Linked DNA regions of Homo sapiens: region 2 is linked to region 1. The links are contacts of gene promoters, found by promoter capture Hi-C in human tissues and cell types (Jung and others, 2019). All regions are on one chromosome and are shown on one strand. Each heading gives the region's core, a stretch centred on a gene start or on the middle of the fragment in contact. The rest is flanking DNA. Distances are from core to core; before and after follow the strand shown. Region 1 overlaps PICK1 (protein interacting with PRKCA 1). Region 2 holds the start of APOBEC3C (apolipoprotein B mRNA editing enzyme catalytic subunit 3C).

Region 1 (6,500 bases), core at 2,382-4,881:
GAGAATCGCTTGAACCTGGAAAGTAGAGGTTGCAGTGAGCTGAGATCACGCCACTGCATTCCGTGCATTCCAGCCTGGGTGACCGAGTGAGACCCTGTTTCAAAAAAAAGAAAGAACCATGCATTAAGCAGTAGCTGCTGCTATTTTCCAGGTAGCTGTACATTTTCCCAGATGCTCTGCCAGTGGTGAGGAACACTCTTGTGTCTCTTGCAGAGGAAGCTGCACTGGTGATATTCTGTCCACTGTAACTCAGGAGTGGTGACAGGCCTGCTGTGGGGCCTCCTTCACTGTGTGGCTCATCCAAGTCAGTGACCTTGCTGTAGCCTTGGGAATACCTGTTCTAACCCTCTCACTGGTGGCAGATGGGAAACTGGCCTCTGTGAGGATCTTGCTCAGGAGTCGCTTGTAGGCCTCGAAGACAGATTCCCAGGATCGACCTGGTCTTGCTTCTGCTCACAGTGCTGCCTCCTTCATGAGCCATTCGGCCTCCTGTGACCCAGGAGGCATTAGCAAGACCTCCCCCAGGCCTGGCCTCCTGGCCGTGTGTCTGCTCAGCCTCTCGCCACCTCCCTCTACCTACCTCAGGTGCAAGTTTGCTTAGAATGAACAGACATCATAAAATAGTATAATTGATTTTTTTTTTTTTTTGAGACAGAGTCTCACTGTGTTGCCCAGGCTGGAGTGCAGTGGCGTGATCTCAGCTCACTGCAACCTCTGCCTCCTGGATTCAAACGATTCTCATGCCTCAGCCTCCCGAGTAGCTGGTATTACAGGTGTGCGCCATCATGCCCAGCTAATTTTCGTATTTGTAGGAGAGAGAGGTTTTAGCTATGTTGGCCGGCCTGGTCTCGAACTCCTGGCCTCAAGCGATCCACCCACCTCAGCCTCCCAAAGTGCTAGGATTACAGGCATGAACCACCAGCCAATAAAATAATAGAACTGGCCGGGTGCGGTGGCTCACACCTGTAATCCCAGCACTTTGGGAGGCTGAGGTGGGCAGATCACCTGAGGTGAAAACTTCCAGACAAGCTTGGCCAACATGGTGAAACCCTGTCTCTACTAAAATACAAAAATTAGCCAGGCATGATGGCGGGTTCCTGTAATCCCAGCTACTTGGGAGGCTGAGACAGGAGAATCGCTTGAACCCGGGAGATGGTGGTTGCAGTAAGCCGAGATCGTGCCATTGCACTCCAGCCTGGGCAGTTGAGTGAGACTCCGTCTCAAAAATAATAATAATCATCATCATCATAGAATTGATTTTTTTAAATTCAATTTTGTTTTTATCAAAGTGCCATATGACTTGCCTCTACCAAGTCAAGAGCATTAAAAGCCCTGTATCAAATAATAGCAATCCACTGCCCTTCCCCTGGGCACCTCACCCGGCTTTCTCTGTCTCTTCATGCATGGGCTTCCATTTTTCTCAATAGTCTCACTCTGTCGCCCAGGCTGGAGTGCAGTGGTGCAAGCATGGGTCACTGCAGCCTTGATTTCCCCAGACTCAGATGATTCTCCCACTTGAGCCTCCAAGTAGCTGGGATTACAGGCACGTGCCACCAAACCTGGCTAATTTTTGTGTATTTTTTGTAGAGACGGTGTTTTGCCATGTTGCCCAGGCTTGTCTCAAACTCTTGGGTTCAAGTGATCCACCCGCCTCAGCCTCCCAAAGTGCTGGGATTACAGGCGTGAGCCACCGTGCTCAGCCTATCCTGTTGTTTCTTGATCTATCACCTGTAAATATCTATTGACTTTGCCTCGTCTGGTAGATGAGAATTTAGTTCTTCCCATGACCAGTCTGTTTCCTCTCATCCCACCTTTCCAACATAGTTATTTTTCTATTTTTGGCTAAATTAATATTAGTACAACGGAGATTTTGTTCGGGAAATCTTTTCCAGATGCCTCCTAGGCTCTGTTGTAGGCACTAGGGATAAAAGAATAAGAAAGCAAAGATCCTACTCTTGCGGAGCCCTCATTCTAGTCAAAACAACTCTATGTTTAACTTTCTGAGGAATCTATGTTTCTTTTCTTAATTCAGCCTGTTCTTGTGTTTTGAGAGGGTGGGGGTAATTTCCTGTTTTGTTTTTTTCATTTGCACTCTCCTTGTTTTCTCAGTATGTTTTCCACAATTTCCCATCTTTTTTTTTTTTTTTTTAAATTAAGTCTTGCTCTGTTGCCAGGCTGGAGTGCAATGGCGTGATCTTGGCTCACTGCAACCTCCAGCCCCCGGGTTCAAGTGATTCCCCTGCCTCAGCCTCCGAAGTAGCTGGGATTACAGGCACGTGCCACCACGCCTGGCTAATTCTTGTATTTTTAGTAGAGACGGGGTTTCACCATGTTGGTCAGGCTGGTCTCGAACTCCTGACTTCAAGTGATCCACCTGCCTCGACCTCCCAAAGTGCTGGGATTACAGGCGTGAGCCACCATGCCCGGCCCCATTTTCTTCAGTCTGTTTTCCGCCCTGTAGTCTCTCCCCCTTGTGCCCTCCCCCTGCCCCTGCCCCTTCTCTTTGGATTCCCCCATCTTGGGGGTCCCTTTCCTGGTTTACTCCCTGATCTCCCGTGGAGAATATCCTCCTGTAGCTTTCTGAGAAAGGGCACGTGGGATGTCAATTTTTTGAGACCTCGGGTCTGTCTTTTTTGGTCATTGTGGTTCCCATATTCCTTTCAGTTGACATTTTGGCTCATTCGATTCAAGAATGAACGTCAAGGTTGACAGTAATTCCTGTGTGGAAGTGTGATGGCCTTGTCACATTGTCCTTTGCTGTCACATGGCTATTGCCATTCTTATTGGTGATCCTTTATTTGTGATGTGTTTTATTTCTGATCTGTGAGAACTTTGAGGACTTTGTTTTTGTCCCTGGTGTTGGGAGGAGTCGTGATGGTAGCTGCAGGCACAGGCTTTTGTTTATTGTGCCAGATCCTCAGAGGGCGTCATCGGGAACACCATGTCCTTCTTGTCATGTATCTCGATGATGACATCCTGCTTTCTGTATTCTCTGTTCTGCTTTTTTCTATTTTTTTATTGTGGTAAAATTTACCATCTTAACTTTTTTTTTTTTTGAGACAGGATCTTGCTCTGTCGCCCAGGCTGGAGTGCAGGGGTGCGATCATGGCTCACTGCAGCCTCAACCTCCTGGGCTCAAGCGATCCTCCCACCTCAGACCCCCGAGTAGCTGGGACTACAGGCACGCGCCACCATGCCTGGCTCATTTTTGTATTTTTTTTGTAGAGACAGAGTTTTGCCATATTGCCCAGGCGATCTTCCCACCTCGGTTTCCCAAAATGCTGGGATTACAGGTGCGCACCACCGTGCCCAGCCCTTGGTCTATTTTTGAATTAGGTTGTTTGGTTTTTGTTGTTGAGTTTTAAGAATTCTCTACAAAGCACAATCGGCTAAGAGGAAAAAAAGAAAAAAGAGTTTTAGGAATTCTGCATATATTCTGGATATTAATCCCTTATCAAAAATGTGATTTGCAAATATTTTCTCCCATTCTGTGGGTTGCCTTTCTTTTCTTCTCTTCTCTGTTCTTTTTTTTTTTTTTTTTCGAGACAGTGTCTCACTCTGTTGCCCAAGCTGGAGTACAGTGACGGGATCTCAGCTCACTGCAGCCTCTGTTTCCCAGGCTCAAGCGATCCTCCCACCTCAGCCTCCCAAGTAGCTGGGACTACAGGCGTACACCACCATGCCCAGCTAATTTTCGTGTTTTTTGTAGAGACAAGGTTTTGCCACATTGCCCAGACTGGATGGTGTATTTTGATGCACCAGTTTTAAAATTTTTATGAAGTTCAATTTGTTTATTTTTTGTTACTTGGATCTTAGGTGTCACATCCAAGAAATTACTGTAAACTCCAATGTCGTGAAGGTTTTGGACTAGGCATTTTTCTGAGTTTTATAGTTTTAACTTTTACATTTAGGTCTTTGAACAATTTTGAGTTAATTATTATTATTATTATTATCTTCGAGACAGAGTCTCGTTCTGTTGCTCAGGCTGGAGTGCAGTGACATGATCTCGGCTTACTACAACCTCCACTTCCCAGGTTCAAGCGATTCTCCTGCCTCAGCCTTCTGAGTAGCTGGGACTGCAGGCGCCTGCCACCATGCCCAGCTAATTTTTGTATTTTTAGTAGAGATGGGGTTTCGCCATGTTGGCCAGGTTACTCTCGAATTCCTGACCTCAGGTGATCTGCCTGCCTTGGCCTCCCAGAGTGTTGGAATTACAGGTGTGAGCCACTGCGCCTGGCCTTGAGTTAATTTTTGTATGTGGTGTTAAGTAGTGTCAACTTCATTTTTCACATACCATTGTTGAAATGACTGTCCTTCCCCATTGAATGTTCTTGACACCCTTGTCAAAAATCATTTGATGCCGCCGGGCACGGTGGCTCACACCTGTAATCCCAGCACTTTGGGAGGCCAAAGCAGGTGGATCACCTGAGGTCGGGAGTTTGAGACCAGCCTGACCAACATGGAGAAACCCTGTCTCTACTAAAGATACGAAATTAGCCGGGCGTGGTAGCGCATGCCTGTAACCCCAGCTACTCGGGAGGCTGAGGCAGGAGAATTGCTTGAACCCGGGAGGCGGAGGTTGCGGTGAGCGAGATGGCGCTATTGCACTCCAGCCTGGGCAACAAGAGCGAAACGCCGACTCAAAAAAAAGAAATCATTTGACTATGTATTTGAGGCAGGAGAATTGCTGGAGCCCAGGAGTTCAGTGCCACAGTGAGCTGTGATCACGCCACTGCACTCCAGCCCGGGTGGTGAGACGCTTTCTCAAAAAACGAGAGCAGAGGGTAGAGTGGAAGACAGAGCCAGGCAGTGGTCAGGTGTCTTCCCAGGTTCCATCTTAGCCCTCCCTTTCTTCCCCCACCACTCTCCTTATGCACCCACAGGTATTTGACAACACCCCAGCAGCCTTGGACGGCACAGTGGCAGCTGGCGATGAGATCACCGGTGTCAATGGCAGGTCAATCAAAGGGAAAACTAAGGTGGAGGTGGCGAAGATGATTCAGGAGGTGAAGGTAAGGGCTGCTGCAGAGCAGGTGTCCAGAGGCAGCAACACATGTTTCTGAGACCTCCAGGCTGCCAGAGGTCCCAGCAGGCCTGGAAGGGGGTATCAGCCCTCACCGCCCCCTTCCTTGTCATGTGCAGGGTCAGGGTCACACTCCAGCCTCCCTCATCCATCCCTCATTCATTCAATAAATACTAATCGTGCTCCAGGACTTGTGCTGAACCTTGGCAAGAGAGTGGGCAGCAAGACCACAAGGTCCCCATGAGCTCCCAGGGAGCTGACAGACTTGGAACCACCCCTCAGGCAAGCCCATGTGTCCCCAGTCAGTGCCAGAGCTGAAGCTAAAAGTCCAAGGTGATCCTCCCTGGGTCAGTAGACACCCAATAATGTCAGCCGGGTCACGCTGGGCCTGTGAGGGCTAGGAGGGAAAGAAGAGTGCCCTTTCCCCATCCTGTAGGAACTTTCGGTCCCACACAGCCTCCTGGGCTCATAGACACCCAGAGACCCCCCTCCCAGGCCAGCTGATCTTCTGCTCTACAGACCAGAGTCACACACTGCCTGCCCCGCTTTCCCCCACCCCTGCCGCTCCAGGACTGGAATGGCAGGCGGCATCCCGGCCTCTCCTGAAGCGAGCATGCAGCCCCTTTGCCATTTCCTAGCGAAGTGGCTGCTAGCTAGTCTCAGGAAACCAATACTGTGAAAGAACTGATGTGCAGGCAGTGCACAGCCATGGGGTGATTTGAAAGTCTCGGGGGCAAGGGTCCCCACTGTGAGTTCAGCTTGGCCAAGGGTGGCAGCTACCTCCCTCAGCCCCACTTCCATCCTCCGGGTTCTGGCACTCCTGATAGTCCGCCTTCCTGCCTTAACCCAGGCCAGCCGCTGCTCCATCCTCTCTCCCCTTTATCCTCCTGTCCTGCTCCTGAGTAGTCCGTGCTTCTCTCCTTCCTTGCTGTAGGAAGAGTCCCATCCTGCACATTCTCCTATTCCAGCCCCTTTAGCCATAGGACAAATCAGGGCCTGGGGCTGGGGCTCAGAGCTCTGTTGTAAAAAAAGGAAGCAGCAAGGTTCATTGAGACCCCACAGCTGCCACTCCACGTGGTCTGGGTATCACTGCCTCAGGTATGACCTGTTAGGCAGAGGAGCTGATCATGGGAACAGGTGCAGGGGGTCTCGTTCTGGCCGAGTTGGGTTGTGTGTGCCCCATTTGGCAGCCCTTCCCCCCTCCGCATCTCCTCCCCATCTCCACTCGCCAGGTCCCTCCCTGTCCTCTCAGGCTTGGTCATACCAGCACCTCAGGTTGCCCATGAGGACAAGAGCTCTTTGTATTTGCACACAGCCATGACAGGGATGCAGCATTGGCCCAGCTCCCCTGTTTGGGTGCTGGGCAGGGATTACTCTCCCATCTTACAGGTGTCCACAGGCGGGGAGTGACCTGCTTGTGGTCACACAGCTGAACTGGAGCCCGGGCCCGACTCCCACTGCAGCCCGCTTGCCGTTG
Region 2 (6,500 bases), core at 1,252-3,751, 950 kb after region 1:
GGAGAGGGTCAGCAGGAAAACATGAGAGCAAAGGACTTTGTGTCATAAATAAGTTTAAGGAAAGGTGCCGTGCCTGGATGTGCACGTAGGCCAGATTTATGTTTGACTTTATACAAACATCTCAGTGCAGTAAAGAGCAGTATTGCCGCCAGCATGTCTCACCTCCAGCCATAAGGCGGTCTTCTCCTATGTCAGTAAATAGAATGTATGATCGGGTTTTACACCAAGACATTCCATTCCCAGGGATGAGCAGGAGACAGATGCCTTCCTCCTATCTCAACTGCAAAGAGGCTTTCCTCCTTCACCAATCCTCCTCAGCACAGACCCTTTACGGGTGTCGGGCTGGGGGACGGTCAGGTCTTTCCCTTCCCATGAGGCCATATCTCAGGCTGTCTCAGTGGGGGGAAACCTGGACAATACCCAGGCTTTCTTGGGCAGAGGTCCCTGCGGCCTTCCGCAGTGCACTGTGTCTCTGGGTACTCGAGACTGGAGAATGGCGATGACTTTTACCAAGCTTATTGCCTGCAAACACATTTTTACCAAGGCACATCCTGCACAGCCCTAAATCCATTAAACCTTGAGTCAATATAGCACATGTTTCTGCGAGCACAGGGTTGGGGCTAGGGTTACAGATTCACAGCATCTCAAGGCAGAAGAGTTTTTCTTAGTACAGATCACAATGGAGTTTCTTATGTCTTCCTCTTTCTACATAGACACAATAACAGTCTCATCTCTCTTTCTTTCCCCCACAAGAACAAACTCCCCTTAAAGGAATCTATTTAGGAAGATTATTTCAAGGATACAATGTACATTCATTCCTCCAAAATATGCTTAGATGAACTTAAATAATCAGAAAGTTGTGTGTGTATGTGTTTCACATTTTCTTGGTCCACACGGAACCCCTTGAGAGGTCCCTGTGGGCCGTGAGCCTGTTTGTAGACACTTGCTTCCACCGCTTGATGTCGCAGACATCGCAGTCCCTGATGTAGGGTCTGGCCCTATGGGGCTTAGTGGGTGTTCTCCCCGTGTGTGGAGATGAGAAATCGTAAAAAGTAAAGACACAAGACAAAGAGATAAAGCGAAAACAGCTGGGCCCGGGGGACCACTACCATCAAGACACGGAGATGGGTAGTGGCCCCAAATGGTTGCGTGCACTGTTATTTATTGCATACAAGACAAGGGGGGCAGGGTAAGGAGGGTGAGTCGTCCAAGTGATTGATAAGGTCGAGCAAGTCACGTGATCATAGGACAGGGGGCCCTTCCCTTATAGGTAGCCGAAGCAGAGAGGGAAGGCAGTATACGTCAGCGTTTTCTTCTATGCACCTATCAGAAAGATCAAAGACTTTAAGACTTTCACTATTTCTTCTACCGCTATCTTCTGAGAACTTCAAAGAGGGACCAGGAGTACAGGAGGAAAGTGGACAAGGAGCGTGACCATTGAAGCACAGCATCACAGGGAGGGGTTTAGGCCTCCGGATGGCTGCAGGCAGGCCTGGATACTATCCAGCCTCCCACAAGAAGCTGGTGGAGCTGAGCGTTCCCTGACTCCTCCAAGAAAAGGGAGACTCCCTTTCGTGGTCCGCTAAGTAACGATGCCTTCCTAGGCACTGGCGTTACCGCCTGACCAAGGAGCCCTCCAGTAGCCCTTATGCGGGTGTGACAGAGGGCTCACCTCTTGCATTCTCGGTCACTTCTCACAACAGCCCTTCAGCACCTGACCCTATACCCACCGGTTATTTCTTGGTTATATTAGTAATACAATAAAGAGTAATATTAAAAGCTAATGATTAATAATATCTACACTAATGATTGATAATGTCCATGATCATCTCTGTATCTAATTTGTATTATAACTATTCTTATTGTAAGTATATTCTTTATTATACTGAAACAGTTTGTGCCTTCAGTCTCTTGCCTCAGCACCTAGGTAATCCTCCGCCCACATCTCTGAGGGGCTGAACTGCCCCCCACCTTCTGGAAGCTGGGAGGTTGGAAGAGGGGATGCGTGCGATGGACTCAGCACACAGCTGGGAACTCGAGGCACACCTAAGCCTTCGCTTGTGCTGTGCGGAGTCCACACTTCCTTCCCCACTGGGGTCTCAAAACCTCCCCTCACTCAACAGGGTGGTGCTGCTCAAAGCTCTGGGCACACATTAGGGCTGGGGAGGGGGTGGTGGAGAGGGGGCTCCAGCCTGCCCAACCACCAGGCAACGGGGCACCTGCCCCTCTCTCAGCTGGGTCTGGACCCGCGTCCCAGGCTCAGGCTGCAATGCCTTTCTCTTTCTCTTTCTCTTCTTTTTGCAGTTCCGTTGGGTCCTGCCCAGGACAGATAAAGACAGAGCAGCCTGTCTTTATCGGAGGTTCCTCTGCCAGTAGGAGGGGCCCGGAGAAAACCAGAAAGAGGGCCAGAGCCAGAGAAACATGAAGCACCCCGGGGCCTCCCACACCAGTGCCTGAGCAGGAATGGGGAGGGGCCATGATTCACAAGGCCCTGGGAGGTCACTTTAAAGAGGGCTGCTCAACTGCAAGGACGCTGTAAGCAGGAAGAGAAGCCACAGCGCTTCAGAAAAGAGTGGGACAGGGACAAGCATATCTAAGAGGCTGAACATGAATCCACAGATCAGGTACCTCTGCACGCTTTGTCCGCCAGGCCCCTCCTGCCACTTCCTGCCAGGCGGTCCTGCTGGGCCTCAGCCCTGGCCTCCCCCTGCCCCAGCCCCACCTCTGGGCTCCCTCCCCCCTGGTTCCCCCGCTGCCCCCACTCCCAGCCAAGCTCCTTGCCCTGCTGTGTGGTCCCACGACTGCTGCTTCTGAATGGGCCACCTTCCCCACTTGCCCCAGCCCAGTCCGCCTGCTGAGACTCTCCCCCGAAAATCATGCCCGGGCTGGTGCTTCCCGCCCTGGGAGGGTGCTTCCTCTGTGTGCTTCCCACTATTCCTGGGAGCTCTGGAACTGGGAGAATTGAACCAAAGGATGATTTGAGCAATCAGGCATTTTGTTCTCAGCGCTTTGGTGCAATTTCTGTAAGATTTACTTTGTTTCAATACAAAGTCTTAGGAGAGGGTGTGGGGGAGGGAATGGTCTCTGTACCAGAAAATAAGTCACTTCTTCCAAAGATGCCTCCACTGTGAGCAGAGTAGGATGCACACGACCCCAGACACAGGCTCCTCCTCTGTGAGCACCGTTCACCTTTCAGAATGACACCTGCAACATGGAGTGTAGGAAAAAATATGATGATCAGGAGAAATGCTCTTATTTTAGGCCAGGCACGGTGGCTTATGCCTGTAATCCTAGCACTTTGGGAGGCTGAGGCGGGCGGGTCACTTGTGGTCAGGAGTTTGAGACCAGCCTGACTAACATGGTGAAACCTCGTCTCTACTGAAAATACAGAAAATTAGCCAGGGGTGCTGGCGGGCGTCTGTAATCCCAGCTACTTGGGAGGCTGAGGCAGGAGAATCCCTTGAACCCGAGGGGTGGAGGTTGCAGTGAGCTGAGATTGCAAACTCCAGCCTGGGGGACAGAGCGAGATGCCGTCTTTAAAAAAAAAAAAAAAAAAGTAGCAGAAAAACTGGGAGGTTGAGGGTGTTCCATTGGTAGCCCCAGAGCTGGGGTTCCAGCTAGGAGAGGTCACCCCGGCCCTGCTGCCCCTGCCAGCGTCCCCTCCTCTTTCTCTCTCCCCGTCTTCCTGCCTGGGAAAGCAGCAGACATTCTCAGGGCTGTGGAGGGATGGGGGAGGCCCAGAGCCCAGGGACGTCCAGGCAGCTGTGTTCAGTGGGCATCAGCCCTGAGGACTCCGGTGCGGGGGTCTCTGCATTGGGGTTTCTCTCTTGTGCCTTCAGAAACCCGATGAAGGCAATGTATCCAGGCACATTCTACTTCCAATTTAAAAACCTATGGGAAGCCAACGATCGGAACGAAACTTGGCTGTGCTTCACCGTGGAAGGTATAAAGCGCCGCTCAGTTGTCTCCTGGAAGACGGGCGTCTTCCGAAACCAGGTAGCACCAAAGTCCTAGTTACACCCTAAATAGGAGCTAAGCAGCTGGGAATGCAGAAAACGCAACAATAAGTGATGTGCCCGGCGTGGGCTCTCCTGTGTGCACTTTCCTGCCACATTTCTATTTTTTTTTTTTTTTTTTTGAGATGGAGTCTCGCTCTGTCACCCAGGCTGGAATGCAGTGGTCTGATTTCAGCTCACGGCAACCTCTGCTTTCCAGGTTCACGCGATTCTCCTGCCTCAGTCTCCCGAGTAGCTGGGATTACAGGCACCTGCCACCATGCCCAGCCAATTCTTTTGTATTTTTAGTAGAAACAGGATTTTGCCATGTTGGCCAGGCTGGTTTCGAACTCCTGACCTCAAGTGATCCACCAGCCTTGGCCTCCCAAAGTGCTAGGATTACATGCGTGAGACACCATGCCCCTGGCCTCCTCCCCACATTATTTATTTATTTATTTATTTATTTTGAGACGGAGTCTTGCTCTATCGCCCAGGCTGGAGTGCAGTGGCACAATCTCAGCTCACTGCAAGCTCCGCCTCCCGGGTTCACGCCATTCTCCTGCCTCAGCCTCCCAAGTAGCTGGGACTACAGGCGCCCACCACCATGCCCAGCTAATTTTTTCTTTTTTTCTTTTTTTTTTTTTTTTTAGTAGAGACGGGGTTTCATGGTGTTAGCCAAGATGGTCTCGATCTCCTGACCTCATGATCCGCCCGCCTTGGCCTCCCAAAGTGCTGGGATTACAGGCATGAGCCACTGTGCCCGGCCTCCCCACATTTTTTAAGTCCATGGCCCAGATCTTCCTCCCTGACTCTCCTGTGATCAGATCGTGGAGGGGGTTTGCTTCCTCCCAAAAGGCCTTGTTTAGCGCCCAGCACCCTCACTCTTGACTTTGTTTCCCAAAATCTTGTTATGGAGCTGTGCGTCCGGCAGTCCTCGGGAATCAGCAGCTGTGGGAAGCGGGGGGTGTTGTGTCCAGCGCTGTGTCTGGGCCAGTGACTGCGGGCTGGTGGGGCCGCCCCCGCCACTGCCCTGATTCCTCAGCAGAAGGCAGGCAGGGAACAAAGCTGACCCCAGAGAGCCAGGCCATAGCAGGGGCTGAGGATGCCTGGTGAATGGATGCCTGGGAGAAAAGATGGCAGAATTCACACATGAGTCTATGAGACAGGGAAAGAATCAATAAAATAAAGAAGGAAGGGGCCGGGCACGGCGCGGTGGCTCATGCCTGTAATCCCAGCACTTTGGGAGGCTGAGGCAGGCGGATCATGAGGTTGGGAGTTCGAGACCAGCCTGGCTAACATGATGAAACCCAGTCTCTACTAAAAATACAAAGATTAGCCAGGTGTGGGGGTGCATGCCTGTAGTCCCAGCTACTCAGGAGGCTGAGGCAGGAGAATTGCTTGAACCTGGGAGGCAGAGGTTGCAGTGAGCCGAGATTGTGCCACTGCACTCCAGCCTTGGCGACAGAGCAAGACTCCATCTTTGAAAAAAATAAAAATAAAAGAATAAAGAGAGAAGGAGAAGGATAGAAGAAGGGAAACTCAATGAATAAAACACCCTGGGGCCTACTATGTAGCCAGAAAAATGAAAAGTAAAGAAATAAAATAAGGCTGTGCATGTGGTTTATGCTCATAGTCCCAGAGCTTTGGGAGGGTGAGGCAGGAGGATCGCTTGAGCCCAAGAGTTCAAGATCAGCCTGGGCAACATGGTGAAACCCCGTCTCTAAAAAAATTATTTAAAAAATTAGGCAGGTGTGGCGGCATGCACCTGCATCCCAGCTTATCAGGAGGCTGAGGTGGGAAGATTCCTTGAGCCTGGGAGGTCAAGGCTGCAGTCAGCCCAGATCCCACCACTGCACCCCCTAACCTGTGCACCAGAGAGAGACCCTGTCTCAAAAATGAGTAAATAAGGAAACGGCCCGGGGCTCCAGGCCCGCCCTCTGCTCCCATCGCCCCACCCCTGCACTCCTCCTGCTCCTGGTCTGAGCTCCCCTGTCCTCCTCCTCCTCCTTCGCCAGGTGGATTCTGAGACCCATTGTCATGCAGAAAGGTGCTTCCTCTCTTGGTTCTGCGACGACATACTGTCTCCTAACACAAAGTACCAGGTCACCTGGTACACATCTTGGAGCCCTTGCCCAGACTGTGCAGGGGAGGTGGCCGAGTTCCTGGCCAGGCACAGCAACGTGAATCTCACCATCTTCACCGCCCGCCTCTACTACTTCCAGTATCCATGTTACCAGGAGGGGCTCCGCAGCCTGAGTCAGGAAGGGGTCGCTGTGGAGATCATGGACTATGAAGGTGAGACGTGGGGGGCTGAGGAGAGTGGGTGCAGGAGGGACAGCATGAGGGGCAGATGGTTCTCCAATGCTGTGGGGCGGGTCAGTGTCCCCTGGGTGTCTGTGGGGACCGGGCCAGCGCCCACTGCAACTGGCAGCCTGGATACCTGGGCTGGGAGGGGAGGGCCCAGGGCCAGGAGAGAGGCCTGCTGGGCCCTCACTGTTTTCTCCT

Evidence for each region. Contacts are between HindIII fragments. The study calls those that stand out against the background at their distance.
Region 2: a contact is called between the fragment with the promoter of APOBEC3C here and a fragment that was not itself captured in region 1, in 1 of the 25 tissues and cell types used here (dorsolateral prefrontal cortex).

Annotation. Positions count from the first base shown.
Region 1 is chr22:38,060,119-38,066,618 of GRCh38, forward strand. It overlaps PICK1 (protein interacting with PRKCA 1), which reads left to right. Exons shown (of 13, transcript NM_012407.4): 4 at 4,884-5,012. Among named protein-coding and RNA genes, the nearest start is that of PICK1, 6.0 kb to the left of the region's middle. The HindIII fragment of the contact is 9,593 bases long and covers 1-6,500 here.
Region 2 is chr22:39,011,756-39,018,255 of GRCh38, forward strand. It overlaps APOBEC3C (apolipoprotein B mRNA editing enzyme catalytic subunit 3C), which reads left to right and starts at 2,502. Exons shown (of 4, transcript NM_014508.3): 1 at 2,502-2,624; 2 at 3,840-3,996; 3 at 6,011-6,290. The coding sequence starts at 2,608. RefSeq lists enhancers at 1,714-2,332, 2,309-2,603, 2,333-2,950, 2,523-2,632 and a silencer at 2,743-2,792. The HindIII fragment of the contact is 14,453 bases long and covers 75-6,500 here.